Linked DNA regions of Homo sapiens: region 1 is linked to region 2. The links are contacts of gene promoters, found by promoter capture Hi-C in blood cells and fetal thymus (Javierre and others, 2016). All regions are on one chromosome and are shown on one strand. The core of a region is centred on a gene start or on the middle of the fragment in contact, and the rest is flanking DNA. Distances in the headings are between cores, read along the strand shown. Region 1 holds the start of SLC2A11 (solute carrier family 2 member 11). Region 2 holds the start of RGL4 (ral guanine nucleotide dissociation stimulator like 4).

Region 1 (6,658 bases), core at 3,499-5,998, 170 kb before region 2:
CTGAGCAGGGGAGTGACTTGAAGAGATCAAGGTGGGGAGAGGCTGAAGGCAAGGAGGCCAGTGAGGAGGCTGGGCCAGAACTGGGAATGTGGTGGAAACATGGGGAGAAGTGGCTGGATTCCAGAGGTAGTTAGGAAGGACTTAGTGTCCAAGAGATGAAGAGAAGAGTCAAGGCTGACCCCCCATCACTAGGTGGAAGATGGAGTCATCTGCTGAGATTAGGGACTCAGGAGGACATGCAGGTTTGGGGAAGATGTATGCTCAGTTTGAACCTGCAGGAACCTGTGGGCCAACCCAATGGAGACAAACTTGTGGCAGAAAGTGCCACCTAGTGGATGCCTGGCTGAAGCCCCTCAGTGGGCAGCTGTTAGCCAGTACCCACTCAGACAGGGACAGTCTCCACCCAGAGAGGATACATACCAAGGTCGGGGCATTGATGATAGAGAGGTTATAGCCAAACTGAAAAGTCCCACCAATGCCGGCAGCGCAGATGGTCAGGAGCAGGATCCTGCCCTGAATCTGAGGAGAGAGGAGAGAACACAGAGTGACCAACAACAGCCTCCACCCCCTCCCTGGACCAGAGCTGCCAATCACAGCATTGCAATTTATTTGAATCAGGCAGTGATGTCTCCACTTTGCAGATGAGGAAAGTGAGGCACAGAGAGGAGTTACCTGGGTCACATGGCTGGCAGGTAGCAGAGGAACCCAAGCCTCCTGTTCTGAGTCCAGGACCCCACTTTACCCTCACCCCACCCATAGCCCCAACATTTCCCTGAGCTGGAGAGCGGTTCCCATCCCTCCTTGTTGGGCTGCCCCTGAGCACGTCTGCTGTGTTTGGGGAAGACAGTCCCCTGAGCTGGGGCCCCAGTAGAGTAAGGCTCTGCCTCCAGCAGGACAGGAGCCTCTGACTTGCCCCAGGAAAACCTTCTCCAACAGAGTGGCCAGGCTCCAGGAATCTGGGCTGAGCCACCTCTCTTACCTCCCACCAGCATGTTCTGCAATGAGGCTAAGAGAAGATGCCACATGGACCTGCAGGTGCAAGGACTTGGGGACATATGAGTAGTAGAGAGGCAGCATAAATGGCCCAGGTGCCTGGTCCCTATCCCAGCTCTCCCCTTCCTTTCTCATCCTAAGTGACTTCCTTACCTGGACCTGCAGATAATGAAGCCTACTTCTAGGCTGGGTACCCATGAGTCATGCACACTTGGTACACAAAAGGACAGTGAAACACCCTTAGAGATGGAGGGAGAATTCCCCAAGGCATCCCTGATGCCTCATCCTTTGTAGTTGGGATAGTTGGGATTTTCTTTTTTTTTTTTTTTTTTTTTTTTTGAGACTGAGTCTTGGCCTGGCGCAGTGGCTCACACCTGTAATCCCAGCACTTTGGGAGGCCGAGGCGGGTGGATCACAATGTCAGAAGTTTAAGACCAACCTGGCCAAGATGGTGAAACCCCATCTCTACTAAAAACACAAAAATTGGCCGGGCGCAGTGGCTCATGCCTGTAATCCCAGCACTTTGGGAGGCCGAGGCGGGCGGATCACGAGGTCAGGAGATTGAGACCATCCTGGCTAACACGGTGAAATCCCGCCTCTACTAAAAATACAAAAAATTAGCCAGGCGTGGTGGCGGGCACCTGTAGACCCAGCTACTGGGGAGGCTGAGGCAGGAGAATGGTGTGAACCCGGGAGGCGGAGCTAGCAGTGAGCCGAGATAGCGCCACTGCACTCCAGCCTGGGCGACAGAGCGAGACTCCGTCTCAAAAAAAAAAAAAAATTAGCTGGGCGTGTTGGCAGGCGTCTGTAATCCCAGCTACTCGGGAGGCTGAGGCAGAGAACTGCTTGAACCCAGGAGGTGGAGGTTGAGTGAGACTCCGTCTCAAAAAAAAAAAAGAGACGGAGTTTTGCTCTGCCGCCCAGGCTGGAGTGCAATGGCGCAATCTTGGCTCACTGCAATCTCCGCCTCCCAGTTCAAGCGATTCTCCTGCCTCAGCCTCCCGAGTAGCTGGGATTGCAGGCATGCACCACCACACCCAGCTAATTTTTGTATTTTTAGTAGAGACTCCTGACCTCAAGTGATCTGCCCACCTCAGCCTCCAAATTGCTGAGATTACAGACGTGAGCCACCGCACCCGACCTGTAGTTGAGGTCGTCTTAGGGATTCACAGAAGTATTTATCTTTCTCCTTTGGTGATTTTCTGTTTTGTTTTTTGAGACAAGGTCTCATTTTGTCACCCAGGCTGGAGTGCAGTGTCGCAATCTTGATTCACTGCAGCCTCAACCTCCTGGGCTCAAGCGATCCTCCCACCTCAGCCCCCCAAGTAGCTGGGACTACAGGCACACACCATCATGCTGGGCTAATTTTTTTGTAGAGATGGGATTTCACCATATTGCCCAGGCTGGTTTCAAACTCCTGAGCTCAAGCGATACACTCGCCTTGGCCTCCCAAAGTGGTAGGATTACAGGCGTGAGCCACCATACCCAGCCCACTCTTTTGTGATTTTTAATTACAAAATGACACGTTTGTTAAGATTTTTGAAAATTCAGTATATACTGAAAGTTCTCCACTCCTCCAAAGGCACAACAATTAACTCCTTCCCTCAGGTATTTTCCTAGATATTTGCAAAGTAGTTGACTTTACAAAAATTGAATCGTTGATATCTTCCCCCAAAAAATACTGCCTTTCTTGTTCTGGCAAATTGTTCTGTAGAATTAAATGTATTATTTTTGAAAACTTTGATACAATTTTCATGACAGAAGGATGTTTGGCTAAGGTTTTCTGAAGTTTCCAGAACCTACGGACTATTTATTCATTTATTAGTCAAATACTGAGTGTTGGCCGGATGTCGTGGCCCACACCTGCAATCCCTGCACTTTGGGAGGCCGAGGTGGGCAGACCACTTGAGGTCAGGAGTTCGAGACCAGCCTGGCCAACATGGTAAAACCCTGTCTCTACTAAAAATACAAAAATTAGCCGGGCTTGGTGGTGGGCACCTGTAATCCCAGCTACTCAGAAGGCTGAGGCAGAATTGCTTGAATCCGGGAGGGAGGCGGAGGTTGCAGTAAGCCCAGATCGCGCCACTGCCCTCCTGCCTGGGCAACAGAGTGAGACTCCATCTCAAAAAAAAAAAAATGCTGAATGTTTATCTCAGCCAGGAAGTGTGCTGGGGGGCAAGATACAGCTGGGAAAGAGACAGCTGTGCTTTCACCATTCAGTGAGATACTGCACTGGAGGCTGGGGGAGCAGAGGAAGTGGCTCTGGAGGGCAGAATCCTGCTGAAGGCCTTGCCATAGGTCTGGAGACAGGTTGGTGACAGGGGCCCTGGCTGCCCATAGTTCCAATAAGGCCTAAGTAACTTTCTCTAAGGCTGGAAGCCTTAGGAAGAAGCCAGGTGAGAAACCTGGCATCTGGTCCCATTGAGGCCAAATTACAGCTCCACGGGGGCCGCATGGAAGTGAGAGCTCCCTTAAGACAGCAGATGTGAAGGAAGCAGCGAACACAGTGCTTGATGGCAGCTGAGCTCATGTAGCAGGAGATATTGACAGGTCTCTAAGACTACAGGAAATCGTTGAATTCAATGAGATCATGCATGGAGATTGCCTATACCGTGCCTGGTCATGGTAAGCATTCAGACATTAGCTACGATAGGGACCATTAATTCAGCAAACAAAGATTTATTGCCTCCCTATTATGGTCAATAATCCTACTGTTCTAGGTGTTGGGATACAGCAGTGAACAACAGACAAAATCCATGAGCTGTCAGAGCTTTCCTTCCAGCAGAGAAAGACAAGCAATCGCAAAATGAACAAGCAAAATATATAGTACATCAGCTGGTGCTACAGAGACTTAAAGCAGTGAAGGGGCGTAGGAAGTGTTTGGACCAGGTGGTGCTATTTTATTTTATTTTATTTTATTTTTATTTTTTAGAGACAAGGTCTCGCTACGTCGCCCACGCTGGAGTGCAGTGGTGAGATCCTATTAGATCCCTGCAGCTTCGAACTCCTGGGCGATCCTCCCACCTTAGTTGGTGCTATTTTAAATAAGGCTGTCAAGGAATACAAGTGCAAATCAAGACAAAGGAGGTGAGGGAATGTGCCATGCAAATACCTAAAGAAATCAGTCCAGATTGGGAAGGAACCCCTAGAAGCGGTGGGCAGTGCAGTGCGGGCGCTCTCCTCTGGCTGCGCCCTTTCCCTCTGTGAGGCAGGACGTCAGGTCAGAGCTGAGGGAGCATGAGGAGGAAAGAGGCGGGGGTGGGAAACAGTCTCGGGAGGGGGCGAGCAGTCAGGATTGCAGCGCTCGGAGGGCTTACTGCCTCTGAGGTCAGGGCTGATCGGCAGAGGATTTAGCATCTCTGGGGGCTGGGATGCCAGGGTCCAGCAACCTTGCTCTGGCCCACAGGCCGACCCTGGGCGTAAACACCTGCCTATGCACATCTGAGCCTAGCACCTAACGCCACTGTACATACAAGCACGATATTTTTGAACATTTGACGACTTAGTTAAGCCTCCCAGGTGGCTGCACCTGCGCAGTTCACTCAGGTCCGCAATCCCTCATCTGAAACGCCTGGTCTGGGCAAGTATGAGAATTCATACCATTCTAGATCGCAGGAGGGCGTGGAGCATTCGAAAGAGGGGCCTGAGCGGAGGTCTTGCTGTCCCAGGGAGACCCCGGCTGCCATTAGCAAGCGGTGAGCCGGCAGCCTGTGCGCGGAGGGAAGGGCAGCGCGCAGCGCCCAGTGGTGAAAGAGGCGCTAGCGCACGCGCAGTGAGCGTTTGAGAGGAGCAAACCCGTCGAGACGAAGCTGTAGCGCAAGCGCAGTGGGTATTGAGAGCGGCCGCACCAGCTGAGGGTTCGCGCAACGCTAAACGATGGCCGGGACTAAGGCCTGAGACTCAAGCTCAGGCGCAGTGAAGCGCAGAGCCGCTAGAGTGTCGCGGAGGGCGCCTGAGGCGCATGCGCGGACTCAGCGTTTTTAAGAAGGGCTGGGGGTGCTGGGGAGTTCGCCCCAGCGTGTTGGGGGGGAGTCGCCGCCGCGGGGGGGGGGTTTGGGGTCACCGCCGCGGGGTTTGTCGCCGCCGCTGGGAGCTCACCTGCGTCCGAGGCCGTAAGGACGGCTCCAGTTCATCCTCCATCCGCCTCTGCCGCAGCACTGAGGCTGAAAAGCCGCTCACTCCTTACTCGGCTAAGCCCCAAGCTCATCTCTGCAGGCCGGAAGGGAGCTCTGGTCCAAGGTCATCTCGGCCAAGCCCCTGCATTCGCCCTCGCAAGTGCCAGCAAGCGACTCTGGTCGCCGCGCTCCCAAGTCCTCCCCCGAAATTCCGGCTCTGGCCCCTCGTCCCCCTCCTTTGCTACAGTCTCTGGACTAAATGTCTGCGGGTCTCTGTCTCTCGCTGGTCTGACCTCAGCCGCAACCCTGCGCGATTCCCTGCGCCGGTCGCCACTGCCGGCCGCCAGAACCTCGGAGGCCACTGCCCCTGGGCGTTCTCCGGAGGGCCAAGCCCTTGGTTGTGCACATCTATGCACGCCCCACCTACACCCCCCCCCCCCCACACACACACACTTTGGTTCAGGTATCCCCGACCTTTCCCCAGAGGACGGGAAAATTAGGAAAGACCGAAAGATAGACCCACCAGTCTTCGGAGCGCTCTCATCTGTGCGTCCTGGGCAGAGCGAGAGACTTGGCGGAATGCGGGTAGGAGAACCGGTCTCGGGTTGCCGCCAGGGGATCCATTGCGTGAGAGGCAGGTCCGACTTATGCTGGGGGCACTTGGAGTTGAGGAACCACAGAGTCCACTGAACCGGATTAATCTTTTATCCCTCAGGGCTTCTCAGGCCCTGCATGGAGGAATCCAGGAGCTGGACAAAGACCAACTGAAACTAGACTTGCCAAAGATGCTATTTGTGGTCACAGAAACATAGAGCTGGACATGACCTTAAGAAGTCACCTGAGCAGACACTGTGATGGGCACTGTAGTAGCTCTATTGCTCAGACTTGGTTTTTGTTTGACTTTTGCTGCTCTGAACTTTAATTCCTAAAAACACTGCATTTTTAAGGAAAAACACAAAATATTAGCAGTTATAATAAATAGGTATTTTATTGCATGCTTTTCGTGCATCTATTAAGATGATCATATGGGTATTCTCCTTTAATCTGTTAATGAGATCAGTTACATCAATAAACTTTCTAATGGTAAACCATTCTTGAATTCTTGGGGTAGACGCAACTTGGTCATAATATTATTGTTATTAATACATTGTTAGTTTCAACTGCTGATATTTTATTTTGATAGGTTAATTTTTTTCTTTTTTTTTTTTAATTTATTTATTTTTTTTTTATTGATCATTCTTGGGTGTTTCTCGCAGAGGGGGATTTGGCAGGGTCATAGGACAATAGTGGAGGGAAGGTCAGCAGATAAACAAGTGAACAAAGGTCTCTGGTTTTCCTAGGCAGAGGACCCTGCGGCCTTGGCCTTCCGCAGTGTTTGTGTCCCTGGGTACTTAAGATTAGGGAGTGGTGATGACTCTTAACGAGCATGCTGCCTTCAAGCATCTGTTTAACAAAGCACATCTTGCACCGCCCTTAATCCATTTAACCCTGAGTGGACACAGCACATGTTTCAGAGAGCACAGGGTTGGGGATAAGGTCACAGATCAACA
Region 2 (5,814 bases), core at 1,193-3,692:
CTCGTCTTCCTCCCATCCCAATCAGCCCTCTACTACTCCTCTCCGTACCGGTGCACTTTCCTTGTGGCAGCTGCAACTATGGGCTCTGTTTGGGTGTCTACCATAGAATCCAGTATGCATCAGGTACCTAATAAGTGCTGAGGGTAGTGAGGCTCCTGAGCAGCTGGGTGAGTGACCCATGGCCCTGCCTGCCCCACAGTGAGCACCTGCCCTGCCCTGCTTTCTGTCCATCTCCTGTCACTCAGTCTGCACAGTCACTCTGTGCAGCTGGCGCTGGTGATGTCCCATCTCTGCCGTCCACATGCAGACAGGGAAGGCTTGTGGGTGAGGAAACTCATCCAGATCCCACGGTTGGTAAGAAGTGGGGCTGAAATTGGACCGAGGGCATTGGCTGCTCCTCAGGGAGAGGCTGGTCTGAGACAGCTGGTGCCAGAGACACAGCCTGCAAAGCTCAGCTGCTCACCGCATCCATGAGGGTCAGCTGCTCTGCCAGCAGCCTGGGAGGGAAGGTCGTCATGTCAGGCAGCTCCTCACTGGGTTGGTTCTTTACAGACCCACGACAGGGACAGGAGGACTCTGGGGCTGACTGTGGCTCCAGCACTGTCCCTGGAGGGGGCCCTTCCCCTGGTGCTGGTGCTGGCCCTGGTGCTGAATGTAGATATCCTGGTGGACCCAGGGCTGCAGGTGACTCTGGCTCCAGAGCAGGCCCCAGGTCCGCCAGCAGTGGTGGTGCTGGCTCCAGGGCCGGCATTGTTAATGCGTGTTGCCCAGGACGTGGAGCAGGATCTGGAAAAGGAGAAAAGGTCACCACACCAGTCATTTTTCACTGGGTTTTCCAAGCACAGAAATGACCGGGTGGAATTTAAGGGAATTGTAGCCCCAAAACACCACCCCCGGAAAGTCTTGCAGACTGCAAGCCCCCTCACCATCTGGCTTGGCCTCGTTGGGCTCCGGAAGCACCAACTGGCCTAGGACAATTTCCTGATGGTCCTCCAAGCCCAGTCCAGGCCAGGAGAGGTTCCTGAAGGCCAGCTTTATCCGGAAAGATGACCGTTGCGGGGGCTGATAGTAAACTGAAGTGTTTTCGGGGGGCCAGTTGAACAAAATGGAGGTGATGGTGCTGGTGATGGAGTAGACAGCTGAGTCAGAGGCCTGGCCTTCTCCCACACAACCCTCCAGGGCACCCCTGCGTGGTTCTGGGTCCCTGGCCTGTTGCTGCCAGTGTGGAGGACAGCCCCACCCTACCGTAAGCCATCAGTGCTGTCCTGGAAGGGGCAGACCTGGCCATACAGCAGGGCTGTACAGACCCTCGTGCGCCCTGGCGTCCCACAGACATTCTCTTCCCAAAGGCCCTGGAGCACAGCACTGTACACCTGGGCACTCAAGACTGCAGCTGCAGGCAGATTTGTGAGCAGCTTCCTCATCAAAGCTCCAGATCTGGGTCCCCTGGTCCTGGGGTTAGGAGGGAAGGGGCAGATGTCGGGGGGAGGAGGACAGGGAGAGCTGGGAAGCCACGGTGCTGAGGGGGATGGGTCTCTCAGTGGCCAGCTGTGACCCCAGCCTCCCCTCTGCTTTGCAGGGGACCTAAGTCTCCATTTACAGAACTCACTATTTGCCTCTTGTGGGGGAAGTCCCCAGATGTCAGCCTTCTCGTGGGAATTATAAGAAGTATGAGCCCCAGAGCTCCTTTAGTCTCTCCCCAGCCAGAGTCCACATATTTTCCCCCATGTTTTGTGGGTGAAAAGGCCCTTCAGAACCCTAAATCCACCCAGTTTATATTTGTTGCTGGGCTGCGTCATTCTAGTCAGAATCTGGGAGGATGCCACCATACGTAGAGGAGGCCATGAGGGTCTCACCTGTAACATTCTGTAGATATGACTTGTTTATTCTGTCTACTGTGAGTGCCTGACTCTGAGTAGAATCAAGGCCGGGGGATTGTCATCTGCTTTGTTTATGAAATTATGCCAAGCCCCAAGAAGAGCGATGCACAAATGAGGTGTTTTGAATGTATGTGTTGAATGAGTGAACCCCAACCTTTGGAGAACCCCAGTGAGCCTCTCCAGATGTCTGAGTGGGCCTGTGGCTCCTTTTTCAGCACCAAGGGACCCCTCTTCTGTCTGTGTCAAGGAGAAAGACCAGCCAGAAGGAATCTCAGACATCCTTTACCAGTGCCATCGCAGACTTGGTTTCTATGTGTTTTTCCAAACAGTGAGTGATACAGGCCATTGAGGCAGAATGCTGAGAGCTGCTTCAAGTGAGGGGGAAGAGAAAAGTAACAAACATGAATCACAGCACCCCCAGCAGATTTTCCAGAGTTTTAGGCTCTAGGGACCCCTTTGTTTGCTGTGTCTTAGATCATTGAGTCCCTACAAGAACCCTGTGAGGTTCGTCTTCTCACTACTCCCTGTTCCAGAGGAGCCAACCGAGGCTCCGAGAGGTGCATCTTCAAGACAGAGCCAGTAGGGGACAGAGGCACCTCTGTGTCTTGGAGGGGGATGGACACTCACCTTCTAACCAGTAGTTCCAAAAAGTGTGGCACAGTGATAAAGTCCCAGGAGGGGCCCAGGCAGGTGGCATAGGAGGAGATGGGTTTAGTTAGAAAGGCTGGAACCAGGGACTCCCAACAGCTTCTCCCCAGTGCCGGGCTGGAAAGTTAGCATCCTGCAGATCTCATTTTCATACTAGGGGGACAAGGAGGGACATGGGAGTCAGTGGTAACACCATGGACCACCAGAGGATCGGGATCTGGAACTCACACCAAGAAGCACCAACCCTTCAGGGACTTGTGCATATGGAGAACCTGGGTGCCCATGGTGAAAAGCGTTCTAGGCTTTCAAAGTAACATTGCATGTGAGGATGGAGAATGATAAAACGATTCCTGCCTTCAAGGCATCGTCCCGGTGTTTGTCAGCTGTGGGGCAACAGCACCCTCTGTGTCAGCAACCTGCATGAAGAGCATCATCCCTGCAAGTCCTCAAGGCCTGGGGAGGCCTCATCCCCTCCTCATTTCAGCAACAGCACACAGGACAATACGCTCTAGAAGAACTCTTTGACTTAAAGGTATATGATTGTTTTTGTTCCTTTAACATGAACGTGAGTCTGGAGAAACAGCTACGGCCATCCCAGCCCTGGCCAAGGGGAAAATGCCGGAAGACTCCAGGGTGGGAGGAAGCGCGTCCCAAGGCCCAGGATCTGCGAGGCGACTTGGGGAAAACGCAGGCAGGTATTGAACCCGTGAAAGGTTACGCAAATGTATGTTTGAAAGTGGAAATGAAACAAGGATTTTCTCTGCCACACAGACAGCAGGTTGGCGAAAAGTTAAAAGCGTGTTAGTATTCAGGGGAGGCTGCGTTCAGAGAAGCAGCTACCTTCAGAGGCTGCTGGTGACCGTGTGACCAGCTGGAGCCCTTTTGGAAAGTCAACTAGCTAGAGCTGTTGAAAGTTGATATCTGCATATCCTTTCACCCAGATATCCCTTTCCTGGGTGTCTGTCTGCTGCAGGGGATTTGTTTATTTTATGGGTTGAATTGTGTCCCCTTCCCCAAATGTAACTGTTTCTATTCTCAACCCCAGAGACTCAGAATGTGACTGTGTCTGGACACAGAGTACTCCAAGAGGTAATTCAGGTGAAGTGAGTTCATTAGGGTGGCCCCTAATTTAACATGCCTGGGGTTCTTACAAGGAGAGGGGGTCAGCGCACAGAGAAGTTCAAGAGAAGACCCTGTGCTGACTGAGATAGAAGTCCGCCATCTCCAAGGCAAGGAGAGAGGCCCAGAGAAACCACCCCAGGCTGACAGTTTGACGTTGGACTTCCAGTCTCCAGAATTGTGAGGAACCAGATTTCTGTGGTTAAGCCCTTCAGTCAGGGTGCCGTGTTATGGCAGCCCTGGCAAACTGCTCCAGCCTATTAGGACACGCATAGGATTATGCTCCTTGTAGAAAGGCTGCCTCGAAAGGGAATTTTATCATGACAGGCTCCACCAGCACTGAGAGGCTGACCCGCTGTGGAAAATGGCCTCCCTTAAGGAATGTTACAATGACATGCGAGGGTACAACTCCTGCCTGATGGGGCTGCAGGGATGAGTTCTGTGAGATGACACTTTAAAGACTAATGCATAGAGTCGCTTCACCTTCTTTTGTTGTAATCAATGCACCCCCCCCACCCCCACCCCTTGTTTGTGCAAAAGTGTTGGATTTTAAGTCCTGGAGGAGGTCTGGCAGGGCAGCGGAGCTGCCTGCCTGTTGCCGGAGATCCACTTAGGGTGGGGAGTTAAAATGATAACAGTGTGAGTATTTTGCTGCAATGTTACCATTGTACTCAATTCTTAAAGCAACATGCCGAGATACTCCTGGCATAGCCTAAAGTGAAAACAGAAGGATTTTCTCTGGTCTTCCTCTGATAGGTGAAAGGGACTTTGCCTGTAACCAAGTTGCCACTGGGGACTAATGGCAGCCAGATTCCTTTGGGAGAGGACAGTGGGTCACTCAAGTGGGAACGCCCTAGGATGGAGCTTAGGGAGTCCCCATATTCGTGTCTGAGTCCTGGGCCCACCTTGGTTTTCACAAGTCCTGTCTGTGGAGACCCTTCTGTGCCCAATCTCACCGCAGACCGGCACTGGACGTGGTTGGTGGTGTGGTGCACGTGCCCTTTGAAGAATATGGAGAAATTGAATCCATCCAACAGCTCTTGTTTGGTCTGTTGTGTGGAGCTCTGCAAAGAGAGTGCCCGAGAGCCGGGCCAAGAGGTGTCAGTGGCCTGTCTGGCTGACCCCACAGTGGGACACCCCCATTAGAACTCATCCCTGGCACCCCCTTCCCCAACAGGATTTGGCACATAGGAGCATCTGCATAGACCTCCAGCCAGAGAAGCCTGAGGTCTCCGGCAGATGACAGCTTGAGGACTTGGGATTCAGATCTGAGCAGACAAACTGTGTCCTTGACACTCACCTTCCCATCCTGCCAGGCACTGCCTGGGCTGTGAACCTGACATACCTACCAGGCTCCAAACACCTGACAACCTACCTGCTCCTATCCAGGGAGGGCCCCTCATCTCCTGTTTCCCCCAAACAAGTGGGGAGGGGCCTGAGGCTGCCCTGATGGGCACAGCTGAGGCCTAGCCTGGATGGGCCTGCCCTGGGCCCTGTGTTACCTGTGGGTGCCTTCTGGCAAAGGGCCAGAGGCGTCGAGGGTGAGGGTTGAACCAATGTCTATATTCTCGGGAAAGACTCTCATTTTGGCCTCTTGTGCGACGAGGAGGTCGGCAGCATGTCGGGATACAGCAGGAGAACATGTTGTTCTCTCGAGCATCGCCTACGAAGTGAGCTGGAAATGGGGCTGTCTCTAGAATGTGGGTGCCTAGTTACCAGAATTGTAAGTTCTGTTGGGGGTCTGTCGGCAAGGAAGTGAGGTCACATCTTGTAGGTTCCATCCTGTAAGCTCCTCCTTTCCATAAGTCCTACTCAAAGGCCCCTCTGGGCTTCTGACCGCTCACCCTCCCCCGTCAACTCCTTACGTAGTCACCATTATGAAAAAGTGTGCCCCTTCAGCACCTTGGGAAGACCTGGATATAACCAGGGTCCCAGGTTTGAGGAGACAGTGCTGGGTCAAACAGCCTTTATTTTAGCAGTTGTGAGACCCTAGAGAACTCCTTTGGTGTTTTGGGGTCTCCCCAGCATGCACAATGGGGGTTATGCTAGCATCTCTTTCCTAGGGAACTCATGAGGTTATGTTTGAGATAAATATTTAAAAACTCATGGTGTGGTGTTCCCTGTGGATATTGCACACACTTAGAAATGGAACAAATACAAGAAGGGG

Evidence for each region. Contacts are between HindIII fragments. The CHiCAGO score rates a contact against its expected background, and 5 or more counts as called.
Region 1: a contact is called between the fragment with the promoter of SLC2A11 here and the fragment with the promoter of RGL4 in region 2, in 2 of 17 cell types (total B cells and non-activated CD4 T cells). The highest score is 6.3, in total B cells.

Annotation. Positions count from the first base shown.
Region 1 is chr22:23,855,965-23,862,622 of GRCh38, reverse strand. It overlaps SLC2A11 (solute carrier family 2 member 11), which reads right to left and starts at 4,748. Exons shown (of 12, transcript NM_001024939.4): 1 at 4,594-4,748; 2 at 421-519. The coding sequence starts at 4,623. The HindIII fragment of the contact is 21,043 bases long and covers 1-6,658 here.
Region 2 is chr22:23,687,641-23,693,454 of GRCh38, reverse strand. RGL4 (ral guanine nucleotide dissociation stimulator like 4) reads right to left here and starts at 2,442. Exons shown (of 11, transcript NM_153615.2): 1 at 1,246-2,442; 2 at 927-1,120; 3 at 464-786. The coding sequence starts at 1,424. It also overlaps the pseudogene GUSBP11. The HindIII fragment of the contact is 11,564 bases long and covers 1-5,814 here.